Regions from separate parts of the Homo sapiens genome. Here all the other regions are linked to region 1. The links are contacts of gene promoters, found by promoter capture Hi-C in blood cells and fetal thymus (Javierre and others, 2016). All regions are on one chromosome and are shown on one strand. Each heading gives the region's core, a stretch centred on a gene start or on the middle of the fragment in contact. The rest is flanking DNA. Distances are from core to core; before and after follow the strand shown.

Region 1 (3,175 bases), core at 342-2,841:
GACTTTCCCTATGATAGTTTTTCAATATTCTAATTTTAAGCCCTTTTATTCATATCTAATTGAAAATGTACTTGCCAAGTAAATTTGAGTTCCTTCCAATTACATGTATTTGTTAGTTGCCAATTAAATTTGTCTCCTACTTTTCACTTCCAAAATCCTCAATGAATTGTCTTCTTATGATCTTGGACAATTAACCTCTCTGAATCCTGTTTTTCTCATCAGCAAAATAAGAGACTTGGACTAGAAAATCACAAGGTCCCATCTAACTCTAAAATTCTGTAAGTCAATTAAAAATAGCTGGACTCTGGCCGGGCGCAGTGGCTCATGCCTGTGATCCCAGCACTTTGGGAGGCCGAGGCGGGCGGATCACCTGAGGTCAGGAGTTCGAGACCAGCCTGGCCAACATGGTGAAACCCCGTCTCTACTAAAGATACAAAAATTAGCCGGGCATAGTAGCTCGCCCCTGTAATCCCAGCTACTCGGGAGGCTGAAGCAGGAGAATCGCTTGAACCAGGGAGGCGGAGGTTGCAGTGAGCCGAGATTGCGCCACTGCACTCCAGCCTGGGCGACAAAGCAAGACTCCGTCTCAGAAAAAAAAAAAATAGCTGGACTTCTGAAATGATGTTCATTCACTACCAGAGGAGAAAGAGAAGGAAAACTCAACATGCATTTATATTTAAATCTAAAACCTTTTTAAACCAAGTTAATTTGGCTAGTTATCCATGGCTTTGGACGGTAGAGGTTGAGGGAGTTCAAGTGAAAACGAGAATTCCACATCCCCACTTCAGTGATTGATGTAGATTTACTATGACCTTCCTCAGGCAGTACCTTTACCACCAAATCGGGAAACACTACCTACCGTAGAAAGAAAGCCCAGTGAGATAGGGCTGGTCCTGCTGGAAAACTGAACTCTTTGTAATCAAAACCCAAGGCATTATCTTTACCAAGCTCTTTTCCCCTTTAACCCCTTTAACTTCCAAGGCTGAATTACGGTGACGTAGTCAATTGGGTTCAAAGTCTAGGACACTCCATATCTGGCAAGGAATGAAACAGTAAGTCCAAGGGCCCAGAGGCGATGATGGACTTGGGTGGAGGTGGGTGGCCCAGGAGGTGGGGGTGGGTGCTGGGCGAGATGCTCGAACCACCGTTTTCCACATCTTTCCACCTAATCCAGGGGAGCTGGAGGAGGCCGGGCCCCCGGCCCCGGCAGAGCGAAGTGGGTGAGAGGGTGGCAAGCTCAGCACTCAACGCTCCCCGCGCCGGACCGGGCCTCAGCCTCCAGCACACCTCGCTGGCCCCGGGGCACCGAGAGGGCAGAGCCGGGACCACCCCAGGATCCCAGCCCCCAGCCCGCCGCCGCCAGCCCGCCCCCGCTCCCCGCTGCGCACCTGCGGTCCCCCAGGAGCGGAGACGAGGCGGCCCTTTCCTCACTGTCCCCCTGCAGGACCCGTCGCAGCCTCCGCTTTGCAAAATCTGTCCTCTCCGCCCAGCAGGAGCAGTCCGTGGCACCGCAATCAGGGGTGGCGCCACCCCGCCCCGGGCCTCAGCGAAGACCTCCGCCCGGCCAACATGGCTGGCGCCGCCTCTGCCACGTCAAGAGGAGGGGACGGGGCGTGAGGGCAGGAAGGGGGCAGGAAGGGGCGGGCGCAGAGTTACCAGGGCAGGCCACCGGACCCCTGAGCTTGCTTAATAACCGGAGGATTTGAGAAAGGCGCGCGGCGGGCGAAGGTACCGAGAGGGGAGGAGGGAGGAGAGGTAGCGGGGACCGAGCCAGAGGGGCGGAAGAACCCGGAAGACCCAGGCAGCCGGACGGCCGAGGGGCGTGGGACCGGGCAGAGCGGGACCGGGAGAGAGCGCCTTTCCCAGCTCCCTAAAGCCACAGCGTATCCCACTCCCTGCAGGTCGCAGAAAGAGTGGAGAACTGGTGCCACTCGGACACCTTAGCTCACCGAGAGAAATGGAGACGGCCTCCAGGACATCTTAGGACCCTGGTTGATTCCGAGAATCACAAATCACATCTCTGAAAAAAGTGAAAAGTTCATTCTTTCACTTAGTGCAACAAATGTTTACTGAAACTTACTATGTGCCAGACACAATTGAGATGCTGGTAATATGATGCAGGCAAAGTAGGCCCAGATCCCTGGCCCGAAAGAATTCACGTACTATTTATGTATTTTAGTCAGCCTGTCTTTTCCTCCTACATTGCCTCTGCCACTTCAACTCTGTCTCCCCCCACCCCCAAAACACACACACAGTACAATATTTGGCTGATTCATCTTGATATGTTCAATGTTTTTCTTTCCAAGAAAAAAGTTGAACAAAATGAGAAAGCAACAGATTGGTAAGACATTAGAGCTTGGTGGTCTCAGACAACCCCTTCCTTCAGTGAGGGGAATGAAATTAAGTGCCCATGGAATTAATTGCATATATGACAACGCCTAAAAGCCTGCAAAGTTTAGCCATATCAACATTTTATGGAATGGAAAAAAAGATCAAGTCCCTGTCCTTGAAAGCTCATATTCATGAGAAATAAGACAGCAGCACCAGGCTGGGCGCGGTGGCTCACGCCTGTAATCCCAACACTTTGGGAGGCGGAGGCAGGCGGATCACAAGGTAAGGAGTTCGAGACCAGCCTGGCCAACATAGTGAAACACCGTCTCTACTAAAAATACAAAAATTAGCCGGGTGTGGTGGCACGCTCCTGTAGTCCCAGCTACTCGGGAGGATGAGGCAGAAGAATTGCTTGAACCCGGGAGGCGGAGGTTGCAGTGAGCCGAGACCACGCCATTGCACTCCAGCCTGGGTGACAGAGTGAGACTGTCTCAAAAAAAAAAGCACCAAACATATTTCCCTTTCTATAATGTGTGTACTAAAGTTGTTTTGGAAGGTGGAAGAGGATGTTTGCTTGTCAAATTGTAATACAATCCTGAAGAGGGCAATGGGAATCGAAAGCCAAAAATTAGTGTAGGCTTCCAAATAAAGTAGGTTCAAGGTGCTACCTTAATGAAGATTCTTAACAGCACACAGCAGAGGTGTTGTTATAAAGGTGGAATAAGTACACCCACCAAAAGCGACAAGATCTAAGAATGAGTAGGATAAAAAGATCTTAGTCCATTTAGGCTGCTAACACAAATGCCCTCAACTGGGTAGCTCATAAACAACAGAAATTTATTTC
Region 2 (3,175 bases), core at 676-3,175, 63 kb before region 1:
CTCTCCAAAGGCATGGGTAATAACTGCACCCTAAAGAGCCAATACAAAGTCCTAAACATACTGGACACTCAATAAATGTTGATATGTTATACCAAGAGGTTAACACTTTTTTTTTTTAAGAGATGGAGTCTTGCTATGTTGCCCAGGCTGGTCTCAAACTCCTGGCCTCAAGTGATCCTCCTGCCTCAGCCTCTTGAGCAGCTGGGATTACAGGCATGAGCCACCACACCCAGCAGGACTTTTACCAAATTAAACTATATCAATAATGATTTGCAGGGTTCCTGCCCCTCCTTCTCAACTATGATCCCTGGCCTCTCTTGGCTTATCGTGGCCTTTTGTGGTTCACAACCTAGCATTAAACTGGAGTCACCACTTCCTGTCTTACACACTTCATTGCTTTTTGTCTCAAGGGTATAGTGCTAAACTTGGAGTCTATTTGATAGGATCACTTTTGTCCTATGGTGTCGCCAAATATTAATTCTGTTTTCTACTCTCATTTTTACATTACTTTTCCAACAGAAACCATTACTAAATACACAGGAAAAAAATGTAGCTTTCACTAAAATAATAAACAATAAATACACAAAGAAATAATTTCCAAGACCTGCTATTTAAACTTACCTGCCCCCAGGCATACATATTATTATGAGTCTGTGAAGGGTTGACTTTTGAAAGGAGGAAACGGGCCTTAAAAGCAAAGAAGAAATAACATTATCCATCAAAAATGGTTTCAGTCAATATCAGCTGAATAATTATATCATGCAAAATCAATTTTATTTAGTATGTGTTGGTAAAATTAATTTTATTAACTTAATTTTTAAAAGATTAAACTTTGAAATGTATAGGTCACTAAGTGTTACAAATAAATAATAAATGCACCTCTTCTCTCCAAATCATACATCCAAAATAACAAATACATTGTTGAGTCCAAAACTCAGCATATAAAAATTATGTGTGCAACAATTATGACAAGGTTGGTGTGAAATTACTAAACACTTGGTCAGAAGTTCAAAATCCCAAATAATGATAAAAACAAAAGCCATGAAAATCTGTATGTTCTTTTGCTTAAAATAATGACCCTTAAGCTTTCTTAAACCACAGGTGATTCTATGAGACAAGTGATCCAACATTTTATCCTTCTACCCACTATGGCTTATCATCATGAAAATAATAACCAGAATAAAAGAGGAAAATGGTAATACACACAGTGAGACATCAATGAAAGAACCAGTAAGATTTTTAACTCATAATGGAAGCACATAGACAGTAACATCTTTTGAAATTTAGTATCATACAAAATCTTTTTCTACTCTCTAAGGAATCAGTTTAACCTAACAGTGAAGAGCACTGGCCCTGGAGTACCAGGACTCAAATCCCACTCCTGTATTTACTGTGTTCCCTTGGCCATAAGTAACCTAGATCTCAGTTTTATTATCTGTTAAATGAAAATAACACTAGAATTCTTATGAGGATCAAATGAGATAAGGCATGCAGAAGTACTTTGCAAATTCTCAATATGAAATAACTCTCATATAAATACAGTAAAACTAATAGTAATTATCATTTCTGAATAACAGTTACTGATATTTGCTACCTATTTTATAATACCGTACTAGGCACTAGGGAATACAAAGCATAGTCCCTGCCTTCAAAGAGCATGTAAAACAAATTAATAACAACTTATAATTAATTTATTATAACTCTTATAAGAATTACAAAAGAGAAGTAAGAAGTATTTTATGAGAGTATGTTAAGGAACCTAACTTAGCCTTCTGAAGGTCTCAAAGCAACTGTGTATGTATGTATATGTATCTAACGTATATGTATCCTCAAAATCCTAAAAGCCACAAAACCTTTTCATAATACTACAGTGTTTTCCTATTACATAAAATTTTATTTTCTAGAAAATTGGAATGATAGAATGAAGACAATGAAAAAATGTAAGTTACCACAAATGTCATATTCATAGACTTTAACAGTAAATAAACGGCTTTAAGAAAAGTATATTACTTTCCAAGCTGTTCACATTTTCTTGTTCAACCAAAGCTAGTATACCACCACAATGCCATCCTGGCCCTGTTCAGGAAGCTAGGCTAGAGACAGAAGATGATGGAAAGTGCCAGGTTTAGGCAACTAGTCAATAATCTTACTGTTTTGCTCTCAAAAGCTAATGCAAAAAGTAAGCACTGATACCTTCCCCACCTATCTCCTTACCTTTCTGTCTGCTTTATGAAGCAATCTATTAAAATCAGAAGGCAAGCAGGTACACCTCACTGCAAACCTAACAACAAACAAACACACAAACAAATTAACACTACTTACCTGGCTGCCTCCATGTTCAGTGTCAATGTATCTTGGCATTGGAAATCTGGAGTGAAGAATTTCCTGTGCATCATCCACTGGGGCTTGCAGAAGGTGGCGGAAATTTTCATACTCAGGCATATCCTGGTATCCTGACTTCCGCCACTGTGCTATGGTCTAATTTTAAAACAATTAAAGAAATTACTTTAAATTTCTTGCCCATCCAAAAATCTTGAGATTTTTCCAAAGAAAATAATCTTTAGAAACTAAAAAAATTATAGACCATTATTCCATTTACCTCAATTTTTTAAAAGTTACAATTTCAGTAGAGAAAATATTCTTAATAAATATAAAATTAGAATATTTCTTCTCCTTTAAAAGTAAAATGAAAGAATACTTACATAAGTCAGAAAATTTTTAAAACACTATGCTTATCAAATGAATGTTAGCTAAAAGCTATCTACCTAAGCTTATGATACGTGAAAGCAATTGAATCAATCCATAGGTAAGTAGCTCTAAACACCATGTAATTAAATCATCTAAAAACTTATGCCTGGTTTATTTTCTAAGTTAGCTGAATCAGTCAACACATTCTTTTATAGCTTTATACCTCTGTATAAAACAATCATGTGCATTTCTGATTTCTCCTTTAACAAGCTACTTGAAAAAGTAAAAATCACCATAAAACAAAGAAAAAGCAAAAAAAAAAAAAAAAAAAAAAAAAGCCCTGTCAGTATTACAGGTTTTTTTTTTTTTTTTAACAAAGGCAAGAAGTTAAAACAGGTATTATTCTTAACAAGTAAAGGGCATTAGAAACTGGTATCAATTAAAAATAATTTACAATAATAATAATTAAATCTTTTAAAACTCCTGG
Region 3 (3,175 bases), core at 239-2,738, 34 kb after region 1:
TTGGAGTATTTTAGCATCCATCTTTATCCTCATTATCCTCTTTTTTCCTTTCTCCTCTAGTTAACCATTGTATTACTAATTTTTGTTTCATCTTTTCATTCATTGTTTCTTTTTAAAAGTATAAGTAGGCCGCATGTGGTGGCTCAAGCCTGTAATTCCAGCACTTCGAGAGACTGAGGCTGGAGAATTGTTTGAGCCCAGGAGTTCAAGACCAGTCTGGGAAATGAGCCATGATCATGCCACTGCACTCCAGCCTGGGTGACAGAGTGAGACCTTGTCTCAAAAAGGAAAAGAAAAATATAAACAAACACGTATATTGGCAGTCCTACACATACTCACATAAGGTAGCATACAGAACAATCTGTTCTGTACTTCGTTTTTTTTCACTTAATAAATCCTGGAAATCATACTTTAGCAGTATAAATACGTTCCTCATACTTTAGCAGTATAAATATTTCCCTCATTTCTCTTTTTATGGCTTCATAATTTTCCACTATGTAGACATACTATAGCTTATTTAACCAGTTTCTTATTGATGGACGTTTGGGTTGCTTATGGTCTTTGGCTATTAAAAATAGTGCTACAGTTAATATCTTTATACATAAATTTTTTGTTTTTTTTTTACTAGGTATTTTGACCAACGTGATTTAGCTGATGAGCCATCTTGATGTAGCTGATCTCTCAGGGATAGAAGATATTTCTCATGAAGGCAGCCTAACTCTGAGGAAAACAATGCCAATTCAAGTACAGATTTCAACACATCTTCAACACTATGTGAAGGGTTCACATCTTAACCTGTGCAATTCAGATTGATACTCAGAATATGGGTTGATTTGAATATCTGAAATATCAATGGAAAATCCCACTCAGTTTTTGATGAACAGTTTGAACAGTTTTCTGTAATCAAGCAGCTTGCATAGAAATTGTATGATGAAATTTTACATAGGTTCTTGGTGCTGTTTTGTTCTTTTTTTGTTTTTTGTTGTTTTGTTATTTACTTATATACATATAAAATTTTATTGAAAATATGTTTTGGTTACTAAAATTTTGTTTGACTCCTAACAAAAGACAATGGATGGCCTTAGCATCAGAATTAAAATAATCTGGATTAAATGGCAATGTGTTCATAGTCAGCAATAAAATTAAACATTTTTCCCTTTAAGCTCAGCACTTTTTTTTTTTTTTTTTTTTTTTCTTTGAGATGGAGTCTCGCTCTGTCATCCAGGCTGGAGTGCAGTGGCAGGATCTCAGCTCACTGCAACCTCTGCCTCCCAGGTTCAAGTGATTCTCCTGCCCCAGGCTCCCGAGTAGCTGGATCTACAGGTGTCCGCCACCAAGCCTGGCTAATTTTTGTATTTTTAGTAGAAACAGGGTTTCACCATGCTGGCCAGGCTGCTCTTGAACTCCTGATCTCAGGTGATCCGCCCGCCTCAGCCTCCCAAAGTGCTGGGATTACAGGCATGAGCCACTGTGCCTGGCCTCAATATTTTTATTTTTAAATGCTTTATTGCACAAATAGAACTTTATCTAACAAATCACTTTCAAAAATAACAGGTCAACTGTTTTAATTTGTTTATGTCACTTATAACTTACCTATTTCTGTATCAGGTAGGAATGTTTTCTGCTTTAAGTAACACAAAAGATCCAAGTGGCAATGGTTCTTCAAATAGGGGTTTTTCTCAGATAACAAGAAGTCTAAAGGAGCTGGCCACTGGCATTGGTTTAGTGACTCAGTGATATCAGGGGCTCAGATTCCTTTAGCCTTTCTGTCATGGAAACAAGATGGCCATTGCAGTTCAAGCCAATGTGTCTGTATTCAAGACAAAAAGAAGGGGAAGCAGGGCCTTCCACATCTGATCCTTTTCTCATAAATGTAAAATCTTTTCTAGAAATTTAGATCAGACTTGTGTTCATCTGCTAGCCATAAATGTACAACATGATCACCCCTTGTTCCCAGGAAAGTGGGAAAATGAAGCTGTACGCCTTTCCAGTCTCACTAATGGAAGGTGGGAAAGGAAAATGGGGATTGGGAATTACCATGGATCAGACAACCAACAGTTTTGCCACCAGTTATAATTAGAGCAGAGGTCATTTTATATTTGAATCTTTTCTGTAATGTCTTCATAAAGCTCACTTTATTATTATTTTTGTTTGTTTTTGAGACGAGTCTCGCTTGGTTGCCCAGGCTGGAGTGCAGTGACGCAATCTCGGCTCACGCAACCTCCACCTCCCAGGTTCAAGTGATTCTCCCACCTCAGCCTCCTGAGCAGCTGGGACTACAGACATGCACCACCGCACCCAGCTAATTTTTTTGTGTTTTTAGTAGAGACCGGGTTTCACCATGTTGGTCAGGCTGGTTTCAAACTCCTGACTTCAAATGATCCGCCCACCTTTGCCTCCCAAAGTGTTGGGATTACAAGCATGAGCCACTGTGCCTGGCACATAAAGCTCACTATAAAACTGCAGTCCTAAGTACTTAAAAATTTCCTCATTGTTGGATATCTAGTTTTGTTTTCAGTGCTAACCTAATATAAAAAAATACTACACAGATATCTTCATGTATGCAATGTTTCTTTTCAAACTTTTTTCCTTTGATCAAAAGTTTCCTTTTCCCAAAAGTAGGCAAGCCATAAGAGTCTATCATTTAATACTGCATTTGAAAACTTGGCTAAACTGAGGTTTCTAAAATTGTTTTTGTTTCTCATATAATTCTGGTGTGAGAAGTTCAGGATGGTGCAGCAGCTTTACAATGTCTTAAATATTCTGGGCTCCATCCAGATTTCTCTTTCATCATTTGAGTATGCAGTTTTCATCTTTTTGTTTATGAAGTATGGTTTATCTCTTGCCTCACATCTACACTCCAGGGAGGGAAATGGCACCACCCCTTCTTGTCATTTATATCTGGGAGCAGAGCATTTTAAGAAACCTTCAACTCGATATCTCATTGGCCAGAATTATGACATATGACCAGCCCTAATTGTAAAGAATGCTGGAAGATGTACCTGGACACATTGCTACTCCTAACAAAAGTGGAGTTCTATTTTGAAAGGGGAGAGTGGATATTGGGTAGGCAGCCAGCAGTCTACTATAAAGGGTTTAGATTACCAACCTGTACCACAGCTAGCTGTGTTATAGCCTCACATTTTTTGCTGATATGATGCTTGGGGTGGGGGTT

The links. The method cuts DNA at HindIII sites, captures the fragments that hold promoters and counts their contacts. A CHiCAGO score of 5 or more calls a contact.
Region 2: a contact is called between a fragment that was not itself captured here and the fragment with the promoter of SEC23A in region 1, in 1 of 17 cell types (monocytes). The highest score is 5.4, in monocytes.
Region 3: a fragment that was not itself captured here is called in contact with the fragment with the promoter of SEC23A in region 1 in 10 of 17 cell types (total B cells, monocytes, erythroblasts and 7 more); the score reaches 9.0 in total B cells.

Annotation. Positions count from the first base shown.
Region 1 is chr14:39,101,644-39,104,818 of GRCh38, forward strand. SEC23A (SEC23 homolog A, COPII component) reads right to left here and starts at 1,592. Exons shown (of 20, transcript NM_006364.4): 1 at 1,389-1,592. It overlaps SEC23A-AS1 (SEC23A antisense RNA 1), which reads left to right and starts at 1,497. Exons shown (of 2, transcript NR_146545.1): 1 at 1,497-1,728; 2 at 1,902-2,169. RefSeq lists silencers at 1,198-1,277, 1,298-1,417, 1,578-1,807. The HindIII fragment of the contact is 19,881 bases long and covers 1-3,175 here.
Region 2 is chr14:39,038,410-39,041,584 of GRCh38, forward strand. SEC23A (SEC23 homolog A, COPII component) reads right to left here. Exons shown (of 20, transcript NM_006364.4): 18 at 2,323-2,478; 19 at 622-687. Among named protein-coding and RNA genes, the nearest start is that of SEC23A-AS1, 63 kb to the right of the region's middle. The HindIII fragment of the contact is 1,685 bases long and covers 1,084-2,768 here.
Region 3 is chr14:39,135,812-39,138,986 of GRCh38, forward strand. GEMIN2 (gem nuclear organelle associated protein 2) reads left to right here. Exons shown (of 10, transcript NM_003616.3): 10 at 629-1,162. The coding sequence ends at 668. Among named protein-coding and RNA genes, the nearest start is that of GEMIN2, 23 kb to the left of the region's middle. The HindIII fragment of the contact is 5,553 bases long and covers 1-3,175 here.